Linked DNA regions of Homo sapiens: region 2 is linked to region 1. Evidence: promoter capture Hi-C in human tissues and cell types (Jung and others, 2019). All regions are on one chromosome and are shown on one strand. Each heading gives the region's core, a stretch centred on a gene start or on the middle of the fragment in contact. The rest is flanking DNA. Distances are from core to core; before and after follow the strand shown.

The links. The method cuts DNA at HindIII sites, captures the fragments that hold promoters and counts their contacts. A contact is called where the count stands out against the background at its distance.
Region 2: a fragment that was not itself captured here is called in contact with the fragment with the promoter of C1orf146 in region 1 in 3 of the 25 tissues and cell types used here (adrenal gland, dorsolateral prefrontal cortex and spleen).

Annotation. Positions count from the first base shown.
Region 1 is chr1:92,216,210-92,220,111 of GRCh38, forward strand. It overlaps C1orf146 (chromosome 1 open reading frame 146), which reads left to right and starts at 1,706. Exons shown (of 6, transcript NM_001012425.2): 1 at 1,706-1,839. The HindIII fragment of the contact is 16,370 bases long and covers 1-3,902 here.
Region 2 is chr1:92,128,242-92,132,143 of GRCh38, forward strand. BTBD8 (BTB domain containing 8) reads left to right here. Exons shown (of 18, transcript NM_001376131.1): 5 at 1,446-1,535. Among named protein-coding and RNA genes, the nearest start is that of BTBD8, 50 kb to the left of the region's middle. The HindIII fragment of the contact is 5,139 bases long and covers 1-3,902 here.

The DNA.
Region 1 (3,902 bases), core at 456-2,955:
TGGCATATTTATTTGCTATTGAGACTATTCAGTGGAGAGGAGAAAATTGAAGATTGTAAGAGTCAGGAAATAATTGGTGGATATATATATATATATATATATATATATATTTTTTTTTTTTTGAGACAGTTTTGCTCTGTTGTTCAGGCTGGAGTGCAGTGGCATGATCTTGGCTCACTACAACCTCTGCCTCCCAGGTTCAAGCAATTCTCCTGCCTCAGCCTCCCAAGTAGCTGGGACTACAGGTGTGCACCACCACACCTGGCTAATTTTTTGTATTTTTAGTAGAGATGAGGTTTTGCCATATTGGCCAGGCTGATCTTGATCTCCTGACCTTGTGATTCACCTGCCTCAGCCTCCCAAAGGGCTGGGATTACAGGCGTGAGCCACCGCGACTGGCCGGTGGAGCTATATTCTTGGGTAAGCAAGAAGAGATGGGCTCTGTTGTCCATTTGAGGGCTGGCCTTACATAGGATTATACAGTTCACCTACTATAGTTGGAAAGAAAGCAGAATCTGGCATATAGATGTTGGTAGATTGGTAGGTGGACATCTGTGGAACTTCGTTTCTGGATGCTTTTATTTATCTCATTTGAATAGTATTTAATATTAAATACTAAATACTATTAAAATCATAAATCTTTATGAAATATTAGCAGTAACTATTTCACTTCAGCCGAAAATGAAGATGAGGAATAAGTTCTGGAGATTTGAAGAGAGGAGGAATTGTCTTAGTCCATTATGGCCACGATAACAAAATACCTTAGACCAGGTAATTTATAAACAAGAGGCCAGGTGTGGTGGCTTAACAAACTGCCCAAATGAGGCAGCAAGAGTGCACCTAATTTTAATATCAGTTATACAAAATGCCAAACATACAAAATGGTTATCACAGGGAAAAATTAACAGCACATCACAAGTGTGCTCCAAAGGATTTTTCCTGGAGCACCTTTCTTTCTACAGGAATACCTGTTTTACAAAGTAAGGCACATAGTTTTGTATCCTAACCATTAGGCTCAAGGCAAGTAGTGGTCTTTGTCTTTTTACATTTTTATGATTGTGACACTTAATAAATTGCTGAGCTTCAATTAGGTCTGAACATAATGGGGTCCTAAAAAGCAAACACACAGGCCCCTGTATGTCCTTTTGACAGCTGCTCATGAAAATCTACCTTTTTCATAATTTGGATAAACTGAAGGCCACTTTGATTTTATGTTGCAAATGACAGAAATCTAAGAATTGAGCCTGAATTTTAGAAAACTGTGAAAATCAATTCCGGACAACTGAGTCTAACACGCAAAAATCTTGTTTTTTTTTTTTTTTTTTTTTTGAGACGGAGTCTTGCCCTGTCACCCAGGCTGGAGTGCAGTGGTGCGATCTCGCTCACTGCAACCTCCGCCTCCTGGGTTCAAGCGATTCTCCTGCCCCAGCCTCTCGAGTAGCTGGGATTACAGGTGCGCGCCTCCATGCCCAGCTAATTTTTGCATTTTTAGTAGAGACGGGGTTTCACCATGTTGGTACGCTGGTCTCAAACTTCTGACCTCGTGATCCGCCCACCTCGGCCTCCCAAAGTGCTGGGATTAGTGGCATGAGCCACCGCGCCAGGCCTACAAATCTTGTATCTTCTTAACCACTTCCGGCTTCCTGCAAACCTCGCTCTAGGGAGCCAGAAGCGCGGAAAAGGTTTGCGGGGTCTGCGGTTGCGCAGAAGCCCAGCGACTGCAGAACCCTGCCCCAGGCACCCTGGGCGCTCTGCCCTACCGGCGGCGCCTCTCACTGCTCACGGAACGTTCTGGAAGTTTGGGAAACCCTGAGCGGTCTCTGAGGACCTGGTGAGCAGGTGGGTTTGCAGCGCTGGGGATGAGGCCTCGGCAGACCTGTCTCTTCGCGTTTTTCTTTCTTCGTTCTTCGCCGGCGTAGTGCTCTCTGACTTGCCGAGCTCAGAGCTTTACCTCAGGGCTTTGGCGGGTGAGGGGAGGAGATCCTGCCCACCCTATTTTCCCCTTGAGAATCGGTGTGGAAAGGGCTCCCTCGGGGTTTTCCCTGTCAGAAGTCCGTCACCCACCTGCGAGTGTAAATTTTATTTGCTTTAGGCTTTGTTGGTCACTCCGAAAAGTAAAGAATGGAAGAGACCGTGAAGATCCTTGTAGGCCGGCGCCTCACTGGACCCGTGAGGAGACTGAGCAGGGAAAGTGACTTGCTGGAGATGATGGGGCAGTGTTAAACTTAAATTTGCAAACACTCCAGAGCTTGGAAAAAACAAAACAGTAGCAACAAAAGCCCAGAATACCAGGGCCTTGGAACTGGCAAAGGTTTAAGAGGCCACTGGGCCCACGCTTTTTGTTTTTATTTTTAATTTAACTTTTATGTTAGGTTCAGGAGTCCGTGTGCAGGTGTGTTACATAGGTTAAACTCGTGTCACGGGAGTTTGTTGTCCAGATTCTGTCGTCCCCCAGGTGCCCATTAGTGACTGTCCCTCCTCCACCTTCTGGTCCCCCGGTCCCGTCCCCCGCGCCTGCCCCTCCCCTCTGTCCCTGCACGCTCAGCGTTCACCTCCCGTTTAGAAGCTTTTTGTTTTCAGGTGAGGATGCAGCCTAACCAGAGGTGACGTGATTTGCCCAAAGCCACACAGTCCTTGCTTGGCTGCTGGTCGAGGAGCTTTTCCCCAGAAATGCTGAGAAGGCACTGCCCCAGCCCCAGGTTTCTGATTCATTCCTCACCTTTAACAGGGACTTGGGACACGACTGACCCCACTCCTTTCTCACTTATTGTGCACGTGATTACTTTACTTCTCTTAGCTTTAGTTAAATTGTTTTTAAAACCTATGTATAAGGGTGTAAAGATTTAAATGAACATTTATGGATTACTAACTGATAGGCACAAACATACATATCCACATACATACCAGTAACTACTCCAAAAAGTTCTTGTAACCTTTGCATATATGTATTCATAGCTATGTGGGTGTATTAGTAAGTATGTGTAGGGGGGGTTATAGAAGTTGAAGCCCTTCCCCCAGCCAACTCACCATTTACTCATTCACAAATCTTTGAGTGTCTACTGAGTGCCAGGTGCTGAGTAAGGTAAAACAGAATCAGAATGTGTCCCTGCTCTCATGGAGCTAGTTAACTTCTCATTCATTCATTCATGCAATAAATGAGGAAATTAGAGAGCAGCTGGTTTCAACTCAGCAGGAAGAACTTTCTAATTATTAAAGTTGTTGAAAAGTAGAATGAAATCACCTTGGGAGATACTAACTTACCATCACTGAAAGTGACTTTCTCTTTCTTTTTTTTTTTTTTTTTTTTTTTTTAAGACAGAGTCTCGCTCTATCACCCACGCTGGAGTGCAGGAATGGGATCTCAGGTCACTGCAACCTCCACCTCCTGGGTGTGCAGCCACACCTAAGGAATGGGGAGTTATATTCCCCACCCCCACTGTTTAATATTTTTAGAGACAGGGTCTTGCTATGTTGCCCAGGCTGGAGTACAGTTGTTATTTACAGGTGCAAACATAATGCACTGCAGCCTCAAACTCTTGGCCTTAAGCAATCCTCCTGCTTCAGTCTCCCGAGTAGCTTGAATTATAGGTGTGTGCCACTGTGCCCAGCTCCATGCTCCTGTTCTTAAGGTTGGAGTATATATACATAAATTTTTTGGAATTATTCTGCACAGATTTGTCTCTTCTCCATTTATTGGTTTGTTCAAACCTTTATATCAGTATAGACTCATGGATATTCACTTTATACTTTGGATTATAATGCTATTTTATTTTGCTCAAATTGTTCCAGCTTTAGCCATTGGGAGCTCTTTCAGTTGGTTCCTGTGCTCTTATGACATGCCCCATCAATGCCATCTGTGTGGGGTTTTTTTGTTTGTTTGTTTTTGTTTTTAAGTACTTTCT
Region 2 (3,902 bases), core at 461-2,960, 88 kb before region 1:
GAGTAGTTGGGATTACAGGCACCCGCCACCACACCTGAATAATTTTTTTTTTTTTGAGACACAGTCTTGCTCTGTCGCCCAGGCTGGAGTGCAGTGGTGCAATCTCGGCTCACTGCAAGCTCCGCCTCCTGGGTTCACGCCATTCTCTTGACTTAGTCTCCCGAGTAGCTGGGACAACAGGCGCCTGTCACCACGCCCGGCTAATTTTTTGTGTTTTTGGTAGAGACAGGGTTTCACCATGTTAGCCAGGATGGTCTCGATCTCCTGACCTCGTGATCTGCCTGCCTTAGCCTCCCAAAGTGCTGGGATTACAGGCGTGAGCCACCGCGCCCGGCCATTTTTTTGTATTTTTTTTTTTAGCACAGACAGGGTTTCATCATATTGGCCAGGCTGGTCTTGAACTCCCGACCTCAGGTGATCCACCCGCCTCGGCCTCCCAAAGTGCTGAGATGACAGGCGTGAGTCACCGTGCCTGGCCTATTATTTTTTAAATAGAATTTCATAGTTCTGTAATGTAGGCATTTATTTCCATTATGATTTACATGTAATGTAGGGATATATTTGGGAGTGACAGCAAGCATTTTTCCATCTGCGTGCAACTGGCTCTGATTATTGGTCACCTCTCCTACCCTTTCCCAGGTCGTTTAAATTGGTCATGGTAGGTTTTTTGTTTTTTGGTTTTTTTTTCATTGATTTGAAAAGGTTTTAGATTGTTACTAAGTATGAAGTGTAAATCTGGGAAAGAGCCTTGATTTACACTTTAGTATGAGATAGAAGGCCACCTTGTTAAAAATTTTTAAATTTCCAAAATAATCCATATTAAATTAGGGTTTGCTGATCAGTACTTTGTCTTTAGCTACCTTTTTATATTTAAAAAATTAAATATCAATTATGTTTTTATAAGCTTAAAAAATTAAAGAACCTTCAAAGAAAAAAAAAGACAGCAAGGGCATTGGAATTAATGTTTTAAACAATCAAAATGCTTAGTTATAAATCCCAGCACTTCAGGAATAGGGGGATTGCTTGAGGTCTAGAGTTTGAGACCAGTCTGGACAACATAGTGAGACCCCATTTCTACAAAAAATTTAAAAATCAAGTTGAGTGTGATACTGCATGCCTGTAGTGTTAGCTTCTTGGGAGGCTGAGGTGGGAGGATCATACGTGAGTCTAGGAGTTCAGGGCTGTAGTAAGCTATGATCACGCCACTGCATTCCAGCCAGGGTGACAGAGGAAGATCCTGTCTCTTAAAACAAAAAACAAAAAAAAAACCCTTAGGTATAAATATAAGCTTATAAGTTTTATTATGTAGTAATCCTGCCTATGAATACAAACAAAACAAATAGATTATTGTGTTTTAATACATAAAGATGAAAATTTTCATAAAAAATTACATTTTGAATAATATGTAAATGTTTACCTGTGTTTCTCCCCCCTCTTCCCTTTAGGGCCATTTTGAGTGCCAGATCTAGTTATTTTGCTGCAATGCTGAGTGGCTGTTGGGCTGAAAGCTCCCAAGAGTACGTTACTCTTCAAGGGTAAGCATATTTTTACAGGGCCATTTGACTGCAAATGATTGTAAATTGTATTTCATACAAAGCACTTTTTATGAATCTGATTTCCCTGGATGTTCAAGGAAATATTTCTCATGTAGAATTCAACAAAGTACATTTTCTGAAACGGGAAGTAATAGAGAGCATTTATTAATAGAGGTATTGTGTTAATCTGCTTATGCTTCTGTAACAGAATATCCAAACTGGGTGATTTAAACAACAGGTATTTATTTTCTCACGGTTCTGGAAACTGGAAGTTCAAGATAAACATGCCAGCAGTTTTGGTGTCTGATGAGGGCTCTGCCCCTGGGTTGCATTCTGCCGCCTTCTTGCTGTACACTCATGTGGCCTTTCCTTGGTGCGTGCACTTGGAGAGAGAGTTTTATGGTATTTCTTCTTATAAGGAAACGAATCCTATCAGATCAAGGACCCATGTGACCTCATTTAACCTTAATTACTTTCTCAGAGGCCCCATCTCTAAATATGACCACACTGGGGGTTAGGGCTTTACCATATGAATTTGGAGGGAACACAGACATTTCAGTTCATAACAGGTAGTTTTTAAATTTTTCTTTTATTTTTATTTTTTTGAGATGGGATCTTGCTGTGTTGCCCAGGCTGGAGTGCAGTGACACAATCATGGCTCAGGAGTTTGAGGCTGCAGTGGGCCATGATTATACCACTACATTCCAGCCTGGGTAACAGAGCCAAACCCTGTCTCAAAAAAAATATATATATATATATATTTACACACACACACACACACACACACACACATATACGCACACACACATATATATACACACAGTATATATTTTATATAACTTAAAGTATCTCCAGTTATCTCAAAAGGATCTTAATTGTTTAAACTGTTAATATGCAAAGCAAATATTTACATTCAATTTCTTTTTTTTGTTTGTTTTTTGAGATGGAGTCTCATTCGGTCACCCAGGCTGGAGTCAAGTGGTGGGATCTCAGCTCACTGCAACCTCCAGCTGCCTCCCAGGTTCAAGTGATTTTCCTGCCTCAGCCTCCTGAGTAGCTGGGATTACAGGCATGCGCCACCACGCCTGGCTAATTTTTGTATTTTTAGTAGAAATGGGGTTTTGCCATGTTGGCCAGGCTGGCCTTGAACTCCTGACCTCAAGTAATTCACCTTGCCTTGGCATCCCAAAGTGTTGGGATTACAGGCGTGAGCTACTGCGCTTGGCCTACGTTCAAGTTTTTAAATACTAATATAACACTTTTAGGAAGGGATATTACAAAATCAAATTAATAGCAGTTCATAAATAAAGAGGTAGAAATCACTGACCTTGCCAGAAGGACTATGCTGGAGACATTTCCAAAGAAGGTTTTCCTCTTTGAGAGAGGAGATCTTCAGAAATATACATTTAGAGACTAGATATACAAATTGGCTGTTCAATGGTCTTTATTAAGTGTATAAAGAGAAATTAAACTCTTCAACCTAACTGAGAAATAAGTGTGCTTAGAAACGTCCAAAACACAAAACATGAAAATACATGGCGTGGGCAATACATAGCAAAGATATGTAACAACAAGAGAAGTGAGTTGTTTTCACTACTTGTATCTACCTTTTATTTGTTTTCATTTATTATTCTATATATGTGCTTTTAAAAAATACATTATGTAGGGCGGGCACGGTGGCTCCCACCTGTAATCCCAGCATTTCAGGAGGCCAGGGCGAGTGGATCACCAGAGGTCAGGAGTTCAGGACCAGCCTGACCAACATGGTGAAACCACGTCTCTACTAAAAATACAAAAATTAGCTGGGCATGATGGCACGTGCCTGTAATCCCAGCTACTCAGGAGGCTGAGGCAGGAGAATCGCTTGAACTGGGGAGGCAGAGGTTGCAGTGAGCTGAGATCGTGCCACTGCACTCCAGCCTGGGCGACAGAGCGAGACTCTGTCTCAAAAAAAAAAAAAAAACCACACACATTATGTAATGATGATCTAATTAAATTCTCTCTTTTTATGTGAGGTCAACATAGGGCCTCAAGTGATCCTCCTGCCTCAGCCTCCCAAGTAGCTGGGACTATAGATGTGTACTCCCACACCTTGCTAGTTTTTATAATTTTTAGTAGAGGTGAGGTCTCATCGTGTTGCCCAGGCCAGTCTCAAACTCTTGATCTCAAGTGATCCTCCCACCTTGGCCTCCCAAAGTACTGGGATTATAGATGTTAGCCACCGGACCCAGCTTAAATCACATTTGTCAAATCATAATTCAGAGTTCATTCTACCACAGTCATTGAAGAAATTTAAAAGTTTTCCGATTGGTATGTGTTCTTGAGCTAGCTCAGACTGCTCTTCTTCTCCACTGTGTAAATCTTTGT